Regions from separate parts of the Homo sapiens genome. Here region 1 is linked to region 2. The links are contacts of gene promoters, found by promoter capture Hi-C in blood cells and fetal thymus (Javierre and others, 2016). All regions are on one chromosome and are shown on one strand. Each heading gives the region's core, a stretch centred on a gene start or on the middle of the fragment in contact. The rest is flanking DNA. Distances are from core to core; before and after follow the strand shown.

Evidence for each region. Contacts are between HindIII fragments. The CHiCAGO score rates a contact against its expected background, and 5 or more counts as called.
Region 1: a contact is called between the fragment with the promoter of LINC01431 here and the fragment with the promoter of SNRPB2 in region 2, in 4 of 17 cell types (non-activated CD4 T cells, naive CD4 T cells, activated CD4 T cells and 1 more). The highest score is 19.3, in non-activated CD4 T cells.

What each region holds. Positions count from the first base shown.
Region 1 is chr20:23,354,719-23,360,624 of GRCh38, forward strand. It overlaps LINC01431 (long intergenic non-protein coding RNA 1431), which reads right to left and starts at 3,409. Exons shown (of 3, transcript NR_109884.1): 1 at 3,237-3,409; 2 at 2,333-2,419; 3 at 1,876-2,251. NXT1 (nuclear transport factor 2 like export factor 1) reads left to right here. Exons shown (of 2, transcript NM_013248.3): 2 at 1-53. RefSeq lists enhancers at 2,835-2,924, 3,115-3,504 and a silencer at 3,555-3,744. The HindIII fragment of the contact is 4,137 bases long and covers 2,393-5,906 here.
Region 2 is chr20:16,725,879-16,731,481 of GRCh38, forward strand. It overlaps SNRPB2 (small nuclear ribonucleoprotein polypeptide B2), which reads left to right and starts at 4,148. Exons shown (of 7, transcript NM_003092.5): 1 at 4,148-4,286. RefSeq lists enhancers at 3,259-4,127, 4,186-4,235, 4,286-4,405 and a silencer at 4,556-4,605. The HindIII fragment of the contact is 9,448 bases long and covers 3,885-5,603 here.

The sequences.
Region 1 (5,906 bases), core at 2,159-4,658, 6.6 Mb after region 2:
CTCTGATTCTGGAAATTCTGACAAATAATTTAATAATACACATGTTGCTTCTTTCCCTGTCTGATGTGTTTGACCAGGTTGTGAGGGAGGAGGAGGGCTAAAGGCAGAAAGCATAATAGGAAGCACCCGCACAGGGGTGAGGATCAGGGCTTAGTACCTACCCCAGGCACCAGTGTGCACATAGTTGGCCCACCTGGAGCTGTGATTCACAGCCCCATGCACACTAGAATCCCTTGGGACACTGAAAATTACCTATGCCAAGGCCATACTCCAGACCCAACCATGCTTGAGTGTGTGTGTGTGTGTGTGTGTGTGTGTGTGTGTGTGTGTGTGTGTGTGGTGGTGGGTAGGGGGGTTGGTTTTGTTCCAGGCTGGAGTGCAGTGGCATAATCTTGGCTCACTGCAACCTCCATCTCCCGGGTTCTAACAATTCTCGTGCCTAAGCCTCCTGAGTAGCTGGGATTGCAGGCACATGCCACCACACCCGGCTAATTGTTTGCCTGAATCTTTGAGGATACGGCTGGGCATGGGCAGTTTCTAAAAGCACCCTAGGTGTCTTTTAGGATACATCACCTTAGGATATAGCAGAATCACCTAACAGATGGCTGGGCCCTACCTTAGCACCTTAGCTGAGAATTAAATGATGAGAACAGATGAAATACTAGAGTTAGCTAATTGCTTATAAATGAAGCCACTATATTAAACTCATTGATAAAGAGAAAGTGAATCAGCACTGATTCTGAGAGGAAGAAGCACTGAAACTAGGATGGAGGACATCAGAACCAGAAGCTGCTGTTACTGATCCTAAAGGCCAAACCCAATTGCATTTCTTCAATGTAAAGAATAGAAAACCCTATAGAAGTTGGACCAATAGATGATGTGCCTGCCATGCTGCAGCTTCCCCAGTTAAGTTGTCTTTGGTAAAAGTGTGCTAGGTTTGGGATAGGGTAGTCAAGATACTGCAATGGGAAATTTTGAGAAGGGTAAGAATCCTGATAAGCACAGTGACACAGGTAGCCGTTTCCTCTTGACACCCCTTCCCTTCTCTATTATCTGAAGCCCAGTGTTTTGAGAGATAAGGGACCCACCTTAAATACTTGACTTTCTCATTCAATTTGTAGCTAGGTCTGACATGTGATTAAGTTCTGGCCAATGAAGTAGGACTGAACTTGGGGGAATTTTCCTTCAACAGACCCTTCTTTCTTTCCCACTCTATCCTGCTGCCTGGAAAGGTTATGCTGACCTGACCACGGGCTCTGGCTCAGTCTTGGCCAAGAGAACAGCTCAGCCATACCCTAGACGTAGGATAGTGCTGAGCTAAAAGGAGCCTAGGTCCCATGTGGAAACACCAAAATAGCCCCAGCTCACTCAACCAAAGACTTCTTTTTAAATGAGAAATCCCATCTTAAGCCATTATCAATTTGGGGTGTGTGACACTGACACACAGCAGTAATCCTAAGTGAGGAAAAGGATTTGAATGGGGCAGACTGTATTCACTACAGGGCCCAGAAGACGCGGGGACGGCCCCAACTACTGCCCTTCAGGTCCGGGCCAGACCCGCAATGGGCAGGATGGGTAGGGTACAGGGCGTGCGTCCCCACCTACACTAGCCTGGTTGCAGGCGGCCTCCAAGGGCACAGCGGGAAGCTCCGCCCTTGCCATGCCCCCGCCACCGGGGAAGGCAAGACAAATGTGCGTGGCACCCTCCTCCTTCGGTTCTGGGACACATCTCCACCAAGCGGCCGTTCGGCAGGTAGGGCCAGATGGTCCCGGCTCGTCCCTGCGGGTGGGGTTTCCCACCGGCGGAAAGCGCAAGCCCCTCCCGTTCTGTCCAGCGCGCTGCCCGCTGCCTTAATTATAAGGCAGATGAAGGTGAAAAGTTTACTGGTTTTTATTTTTGCAACTTTTTGTAAATTTTAAATTATTCTAAAAAGTTTAAGAAATGAATTGTGCTGAGGAGTATAATCAGCACGCAGTGCGAGTTCTTATAGTGGCCACGTCCACAAACCCTGTGTTGTGGAAGAACAGAAGGCGTTCTGCTTTCTGTGTTTCACCGTCTCTCCCTCGCTTTAACTTCCAGGTCCCGGAGTAGTGGTGACAGCAAGGTCTGTTGGTTTCTTTGGTTTAGGTTTGATGAAAGGCCACTCCAGTGGGGTAGGAGGTGGGCAGGGAGAACAGGGGCTAGGGTGGGAGGGGCAGGAGTTGGGTCCTGGGGGTGGAGGAGATGACGGGGAGAGTGGCTTGGAGAAATCTGCAAGAAGAGACATTGGAAGGCCGGGGGAGGTGAAATGGACACTGGGTGAAGCTGAGGAGTCCTAGTGAACCATGTTACCTCTGATCCAGATATTCCCAGAACAACAAGAAATCAAGCTTCTGAATGTGGTCTGTTGCAAGCTTGGAAGGTGCACACCTGTTGCTGCTAATTTGGACAATTTGGGGGAAGAGCAGAGATTTAGATGTTGCTTTGGTCGACCTTAAACACCAGCCCTGTCTCCCCTACCACTTTGCCAAATTAGGGCCCCGTCTCTCTAAAGAGCAAACAGAAAACTGCAGAAAGTTGCTTTGTCCTGTAGACAAGAGGCTGGGACTAGGTAAGAGGAGGGAGCCAGGATGCAAAACTTAAGACCAGCCTGGCCAACAAGGCGAAACCCCGTTTCTACTAAAAATAGAAAAATTAGCTGGGCGTGGTGGCAGGCGCCTGTAATCCCAGCTACTCAGGAAGCTGAGGCAGGACAATCGCTTGAACCCAGGAGGCGGAGGTTGTAGTCAGCCAAGATCGCGCCACTGCATTCCAGTCTGGGCGACAGAGCGAGACTCCGTAACAAAAAACAAACAAACAAACAAAAAATCTTAAACATCACCAACGAGCCTTGTGAGAAATGGTTTAACGTTGTGATACCTTGCCCAATTTTAAGGCAGGTAAAGGTGTGTGTTAAAACTCAACTCTTGAACTGAACCCCAGCTGCCCTTTAGGGCATGCTTAATTTGATGTGGACTGTAACCTCTTTTGCAGCATTGTAGAGATTTGGAATCTGCACATTAGGAAGAGACCCCACGAGGCGGTGGCGTTCTTTCTCGTTCGGAGCTCACACCCCTCCTGGGGAGCCCTCTCCCAACCCGGGCTCCCGGTAAGCGCGGTCGCCGCTCCTCTGAGGGCTGCTCTTCCCTCGCTTCTGAGCCGAGGCCCCCGCGACACGAACGCCACGCCCGAAGCGCTCTTGCCAGGACGTACTGACCGAGGGTAGGCTGCCCAGCCGGGTGGTAACGTTGAGGAAAGGACAGCAGCTTCGCAAAGGAGCTGGGTAAAACCACGCCCAGACCCCGCTGGCCACCAGCCCGAGACCAAGACGCAGGCGGTGGCGCCGGTTTCTCACTCAACCGCAGGTTCCAGCATCCCCGATACGGCCGACGTCATTACCCTGCGACCGCTCAGGACACTTCTGAGGACTCTTTTGACAGCTAGTAATCGCGCGGTGGCGCGACCACGTGACTCCGGCGCCCTAGCCCCGCCCTCCGTCTCCAAGGAGCCCTGGAAGGAGCTATACCAGCGGCTCCAGAAGGCGGGGAGAGGCGGGGCCGGACTCCGGGACAGCCAATGGGCGAGGAGTGCCGCCCAGCCTGACCCACCGGCCGCTCCCTCACGAGCCTGTGGGCGTGCGCCGGCTGTGCAGGTGAGGGGCAGCGAGGGCGCCTAGTGGGCAGGGCGCCGGCGTTGCGCGTGCGTCAGTGTTCTTCCTTGTGCAGTTTAGAATTTGATACATTTCTTTCCAGTCTATTTCTATAGATTTGTTTTCAAATCACATCAGACCCTATGTAAAATAGTGTACCGTCTTTACTCATTATAACATGGTGAGCATTTCCCCAAGCTATTACACATATTTTTAAACATTGTTTTAATGACCGGCATAATAATCCAGTGCTTGGATATATCAAATTCTTCGGCCATCTCCTTATAGGTGAGATTGTTTCCAAAGTTTCACTAATGTAAGTGCACTGCAGTGAACGCCCTTACGTAACAATTGTTCACTCCCGTGTACTTTTCTCGTGCAGAGTTCTACAGCATGAAACACTATATTTAACTTTGTCAGGTTGATGTTTATCAGTGGTTTATTATTGTTTTTATAGTATTCCATTGTCAGTGAAGTATGCCATTCACACTGTCAAGTGAATTGTCTATTTGTATTATTTAAAAAAAAGATCACAAACATAGAAAGGAGAGCTTTATTTCTTTAAACGGTGATAACCTGCAAGGTGGCCCTTCTGACAGGCTGGGAAGCATAGCTTCTGGCAGAAGCTCAAAAGGCAGGCAGCTGGAGGGAAGGGGGCCTAAGACAGGAATTTAAGCTGAAGGACTTAGCCAAGTACACATATGAACAGGCCACAGGAAGAGCTATGAATATTCATGAAACGGGTCCTGACCCATGCTTACTGGACAAACGTGCATGTTACAGGTGACCTATGTTTACTTTGGGGTGGACTCTTAGCATTTACAGGTATTCATGTATTACATTTAGACCCTATAAGTTGAAAGATCTTTTCAGGACACCGATGCACTTGTGTGCAGCCTCTGTAAACCGCCAGAATCAGCCCCTGTTCGGTTGTTTCCCATCAGGAAAAAGTTACTGCAGTCAGTCTCTGGTCCAATCAAAGCAGTAATTATTTGTGGAAGTGGTGGGGCTGGGGCAGGGGGCGTGTCAGTCAGCATGTGGAGGTGGATGAAAAGCACATTGTTTGAATATTGCTTATCTAGAGGCCAGTGCTTGTTTGGCTGCCAGAGAATAAAAACCTTGTGGCAGTTAAGGCATAGTTTCTTCTTGAAGTGTAGAGGTGCATGACAACCCTTGCCAGGCATGGCCCTTCATTCTTTATCATTTAGTATTGCCACAAAGAGTCTGTGAGTCTTATGACCTCTATTTTTAAAGCTATTAAGACACTCAACTAAAGCAATCCTTTCAGTATTGAATGGATAAGCTAGCATTATGTTATGCTAGCTAACATAATCGGAGACGGAGTCTCATTCTATTGCCCAGGCTGGAGTGCAATGGCATGATCGAAGCTCACTGCAACCTCCATCTCCTGGGTTCAAGTGATTCTCCTGCCTCAGCCTCCTGAGCATCTGGGATTACAAGTGCCTGTCACCACTCCCGGCTAATTTGGTTTTGTTTTTTTGAGACAGAGTTTTCCTCTGTTGCCCAGGCTGGAATGCAGTGGTGCAATCTCCGCTCACTGCAACCTCTGCCTCCCATGTTCAAGCGATTCTCCTGCCTCAGTCTCCTGAATAGCTGGGATTAAAGGCATGTACCACCTCGCCCAGCTAATTTTTGTATTATTAGCAGGGAAAGGGTTTCACCATGTTGTCCAGGCTGGTCTTGAACTCCTGACCTCAGGTGATCCGCCCACTTCAGCCTCCCAAAGTGCTAGAATTACAGGTGTGAGCCACCGCACCTGGCCTAATTTTTGTATTTTAGCAGAGACGGGGTTTCACCATGTTGGCCAGGCTGGTCTTCAACTCCTGACCTCAAGTGATCGGCCCGCCTCGGCCTCCCAAAGTGCTGGGATTACAGGCGTGAGCCACCGTGCCTGACCACCTTTTTGTAATGCAAAACAAAATCATAAAACACGATTCTGGGCCTGCTGGAGCCATGGGTGAAAACTGCGTTCATTCCAATTTCTTCAAATCATGGAATGCAAATATAGAGAGTCGGCCTAAGAAAGATTTCTGTCACTCATTCATTCTTCAAATATTTATTGAGCACCTACTATGTGTGGGAAGCTGGCTCCTGTTCAGGAAATATAATTAAAAGTACAATCTCCCAACCCTCTTCAGAAAGGTAGTGGAGAAAGAAAACACTTTGTAATTGAATAAGCATTAAACTAGAATGTGATACCCATCACAGGCAATCCAT
Region 2 (5,603 bases), core at 2,898-5,397:
GTGTGTATATATATATTTTTTTTAATTTTTTATTTTTTTAATAGAGATGGGGTTTCACAATGTTGGTCAGGCTGGTCTCAAGCTCCTGACCTCAAGTGATCCACCCACCTCAGCCTCCCAAAGCTCTAGGACTACAGGCATGAGCCACCATGCCTGGCCTACCAACCATTCTTTTTTTTCTTCTTTTTTTTTTTTTTTGAGACAGAATCTGACTCTGTTGTCCAGGCTGGAGTGCAGTGGCATGATCTTGGCTCACTGCAACCTCCACCTCCTGAGTTCAAGCGATTCTCCTGCCTCAGCCTCCAGAATAGCTGGGATTACAGGCGCCTGCCACCACGCCCAGCTAATTTTGTATTTATAGTAGAGACAGGGTTTCACTGTGTTGGCCAGGCTGGTCTCGAACTCATAACCTTGTGATCCGCCTGCCTCGGCCTCTCAAAGTGCTGAGATTACAAACTGAGCCACCGCGCCCGACCCCAACCATTCTTAAAAAAGAAATGCTTAGGTTCTTGCTACCCAAAATGCGGTATGGGACCAGCAGCATCAGCATCATCCGGGAGTTTGCTACAAATGCAGCTTCTCAGCACTGGATTAAGATATCTGGGGAATGCCCAAGAAATCAACAATATATCACTTTTGAAATTACACAATCAGGGCCTGACAGTCTTTTTTTTTTTTTAAAGCTGTTCTTTTTAAATTTTGTGTTTTCAAACTGTCCTAAGGCTTAAGACTCAAAAAAAATTACAGGGATTAATCATAGGGGAAGCAAAACCCATTATATTTAAAAGTTGTGTGTGCATAATATTTTATTTCATGGGAGCATCTCATGGGACTGAAATCTTAATTTTCTAGTCTCAAAGAGAACGACAGTTGTATGATGCTACTTTAGCTCCTTTAGGGAAGGGCAGGTGATACAATACTGAGCACAACCTACATGTCTCACAAAAAGTTCACCAAAAAAGTTCAGGTTTTCCCCACACTTCTTTGGATTAATGATCAGGTCCTCAAAGAAAAACTACCATTTCCAAACTTTATGGAATGTGCACATTCTCATAGCCTATCTGAGACATCACCCATTCTGGGGAGAGGGTATTTTGCTGCATGTGAAAGACACACTATTCTTAACATTAATACAGTAGTGAACATCAGAGGCAATAGTCATATTTGGGTTTCTTTCATTCCTAAAAGCAAGAATGTATCCACAAAGAATGAAATGTAAGAATTAAGTAAAATGAAAGAAAATTGCACAAAATTATTTCCTCCCTGAATTGGGGGTGGGAGAGTGGTGCTTTTTAGGAAGTTTCAGTCAACATTATCCCAACCTCCCTGGAAAACATAAACCTGATTTGGTGCTCAACAATAACGCCTAGATTTGTTTAATGCTTGTTGTGAAAATAATTTCACTCTAGATACATTTCTTAATGTAATCACCACCTGGGGAGAGAAAGAAGATACAAACGAATTGCCATACATTTTGTGACTCTATGTAACATAAATAAGACAAAATTTATCCACCAGTTTTATGGTGCATTTTCCTTTATACATGGCTCCTTCTTAAAACTACTGCAGCAAGATACCAAAAACAATTAATGAGAAACATAAAACACGTGCAGATAAGGTAGGGAAATGTATGTGTATTCAGAGTCACTAAGAGACACCTCAGTTATCTTCCTTATAATTTAGACATCTTGGCACAGTTTTATTCCCTACTGTTTGTAGTAATTTTTCTGCTACTCCCAAAATAAGCAAGTTTTATCATCTGCAAATACATGACACTTGGATAGGGTGGTTATAACGCTGCCTCCTTGTTTCTCTCGATTAAAAAAAGCCTGTTTCACAGGAAAATAAATCACGATACCTAACCCAAATGTGAAAGAACAGACTGAGCAGAACTAACAAAACTCATTTGCTCTTCTAGTTTTTAAAAATGTGAGTTTTGGACATCTGATTCCTGATCTCACCCTCAAGAAGTGGATCTGGTTATAAAGTGATGATGTTTTACAGTACATGTGACCATAGTTTAGCTGCTATAATATTCTTAATATAGTTACATAGCCAGGCTATGCAAGGTTTCTCACAAAACCAGAAAAGCTATTCGATCCTTATCATTCCCTTCCTGTACTGTTCTCAATAACTGGCTTCTCAAATCGTTCAGGAAACCACTGAGAATCATTAACGGGTTATTGGAATGCCCAGAGTGACTGCCCAAGGACAGGAAAATGCACTGGCTCTTTTTAGAAGAACCTGGAAAAGTGCATGCAGACCATTGCGGCTGAGTTGGCAATGGATGATTTCCTTCTCACAGTGTAATGTACAATAGCTGTAATTTAATTGTTAATAGAACACAACATGCAGTCTGTCTTCAGGCCTCTGTGTTTCTTGTGGTATTTTCTTCCCAGGTTGGAGTGTTTTTGTATAATCACATCTTATTCTCTTTTAACAGTTATCAACTCTTGGCTAGATCCCCTTATACAATACAGAGTATAGTTTATTCTCAGTAGTGTAGCCATCCTCATTATTATCAAACAGAACTAATTGCTGAGATGCTCATAGTAATATGCAAAACAGCTTGTCCTTTGTTATTTAGAAATTGTTTATATTAAGTTTATATTCTCTTTTAATTTGTTAAAGATATAATTCTTTGACTGAGATAGGACATTTCTTCTCATTGGTTTATTTATTTTAGAGATGAGATCTCACTATGTTGCCCAGGATGATTTTGAACTCCTGGACTCAACCAGTCCTCCTGTCTCAGCCTCCCCAAATGCTAGGATTACAGGTGTGAGCTACTACACTCAGCCATTTCTTCTAGTTTTAGATCTATATAATAAAACGATGCTTTTCTGTGATCCCTTAACATTCTCTACACTCAGGTGCATGTTCAAAGCATATTTGTTTTACTGTTGCCTAGTTTTCCATGTCATTCATTGAATTATCCAATGCATATTAATTATCAGTCACTTTTCCCATTACTAAGGGTACTTGAGTGAACAGAGCAGACAAAAACCCCACCCTTAAAAAGCTTATATTATTTTCAAGTTGTTGCAACTTTGGGTGTTTTTAAAAAATAAAAATTCCCAGCTGATAAAACCAACTTATTTGACAGCTACCTGCCTCACCAGTAGAACCAAGTTATAGCCAGAATTCAGAAATAACATTTTTGAGCATTTATTGTGTCTGACAATGTGCCAATCACTTTACATTTATTTTAGCTCATTTAATGCTTACAACAACTAGAAGGAGGTACTATTAGGATCCCTATTTTACAGATGAAAAAAGTGAAGGTCAGAGAGATTAGTTAAGCAGAGGGTACAAGATTAGGTTCCAGTTGACTCTTAACAACCATTTCATATTCCAGGTGATGCTTTACAGACATCTGATGAATGGATGGATGAATGAATGCATGCACTTTGGGAACTCCCATTCAGCTTGGCATAAATACTAACTCCTTAGAATACCCTAGAAAAATCTAGACCTTTTGTTGGAAGAAAAGAGTGGGAAGGGTGGTAGGGAATTATTTTTTCGAGTGAATTGAGGCAGATGATCTTACAGATGACTGGGTTCTAGTCAGCATGGTTGCCTTATCTGGTGAGAGATGAGAATTGGGCAGACACCAGTTCTGTCTGCCCTGGGCCCTCAAACTGAGTAGCCTCTGAGATTCAAGTTCATCAGCACAGTGTTGGAGGACAGTTCCTGCAGAGCCCCATGAATCAGAGGAGACTCGGAGGCAGGAGGAACTGGCTATCCTAAAGGTGATTTTAAACCGGGGTAGCTAGAGCCCAAAGAAGGGCGAAACCAGGACTAACTGCCCCATAGCATGAGGGGCAGCGCCTGTAAAATTACATAGGATTTGTAAAGGTGGAAGGCACTGTTGCGCCGGGTAAAGCTTCGCAAGGTCGTGGTAGGGGAAATGATTCACTCCCCTTCACTATTCCCTCGCAGCATGGTCCTCACAACCCCCTTCTCTTTCCCCATTTCCATTTCCGGACTCTTCTCCTGCCCGCAGGGCAGACGCACGCGCAGAGAGATTGCCAGCCCTGGCTGCCAGAGACCCGGAAGCATCGATCGGCTCTGTGCTCGGCTTCTAGACTTGTCGGCGCTCGATTGAGGAGCGTGGCTACGTTGCTTCCGGTGCCTGGCTCCGTTTCCTGCTTTTGGTTCTTACAGTAGTCGGCGTAGGCCTTAGGTGGGTTCGTGCGCCTTCTACCTCGCTGTTTCGGTTTTCCTGGCTCCTCGGCCCTTTTCTCCCCTGTTGCAGCTGGGAGCGGACGAAGCGCGAAGCTGGGGTGGGTACGCGTTTGGCCCGGGTTTGGATCTCGGAGGGGCAGGCTTGGGGGTGAGGAGACTGACTCTGGGGCCGGGCATCGCGTGGCAGCTCCCTTGGACTTCGTTAGGGGGCCTTGGGCGAAGGTGCTTGTGTCTGGAGAGGCGGGAGGCTTGCGCGTACGAAGTAAAGGATAGTTAATGTCAGTCTGCTCGTGCGAGGCGTGGACAGTTCACTGCGCTTTCAGGTGTCTTCCAGCGGCTCCCTTTTGGTGGTGGCGGGTAATTCAGGGTGTCCCTGTAACAACGCAGCCCACGATCAAACCTCGCATGAAACCCTGCAAGAGCCTCCCCTTTGTCCCCCTACCTTCACTTTGACCTCTGCCTCAGTCACTTCCCTTTCGTCGTCTCCTTTGCGACCCCTGCCCCTTCTCCAGATTTCGATTTAGGGGGTCGCAAGGCTTTGAGAAGCGTTACGTTTTACCTGTTACCTGCACAAGTGCAGCCCCTGCTTGTAGGCTCTTCCCTTGTCAATCATCCAATGCAGTTCACATACAGTGGATGCTCTGTAAATACTGTGAGATAAAGGAATATGTGGGGCACACAAGGAAATCATCCAAGTTCACAATTTGCAAGTAAAAACCATGTAAAAAATGCAATAGTGTGGTATATGAGGAAGACAAGTGTAGAGGAGAAAGCAAGGGCTGAATTTCCAGGCCTGATGCTTATTAGCTGTGTGACCTTAGGCAAGTTCCTTACCTGGTAATAGCTGTTAATAATAGCTACTCTTAAGTGTTTACCGCTGATGCAGAACTGTGCTAGAATTCATTTAGTCTTCTGAGTTCTATTGGGTAGGTTCTGTTACCATTCTTATTTTACTGATGAGGACCTGAGAGGTTAAGGAACTTCCCTCAGGCAAACAGCTAGTAAGAAGCATAAATAGGATTTGAATTCACATCTGGCTGATACTGGAATCTGAGTTTAATCGTCATGCCACACTGCTGTCATTGAGCTCCTTTCTTTCAAGTCGGTTAGAGATAACCTTGGAGTCCAGACAGCTTGGTGATGCTGTATACAAATTAATAGGTATGGAAGGACTTTGTAAGTGCACCCATTAAGTAGTTGGCAAACTTCATTAATGTCTAACCTTATGATTTTTACTGGATGTACATTTGCTACTTTGGTCATTTTTCTTCAAATCTACATTTTAAAATTATTTCATTGAGGAGGTGGAAAGAAAATGTCACGTGTCATAAGTGAAACGTAAGTGTAAAAATAAATGTGTTGAATTAAATGGTGTTACTAAAATCTGGCTAGGTATTGGTGCTCCAAGTTTTGAA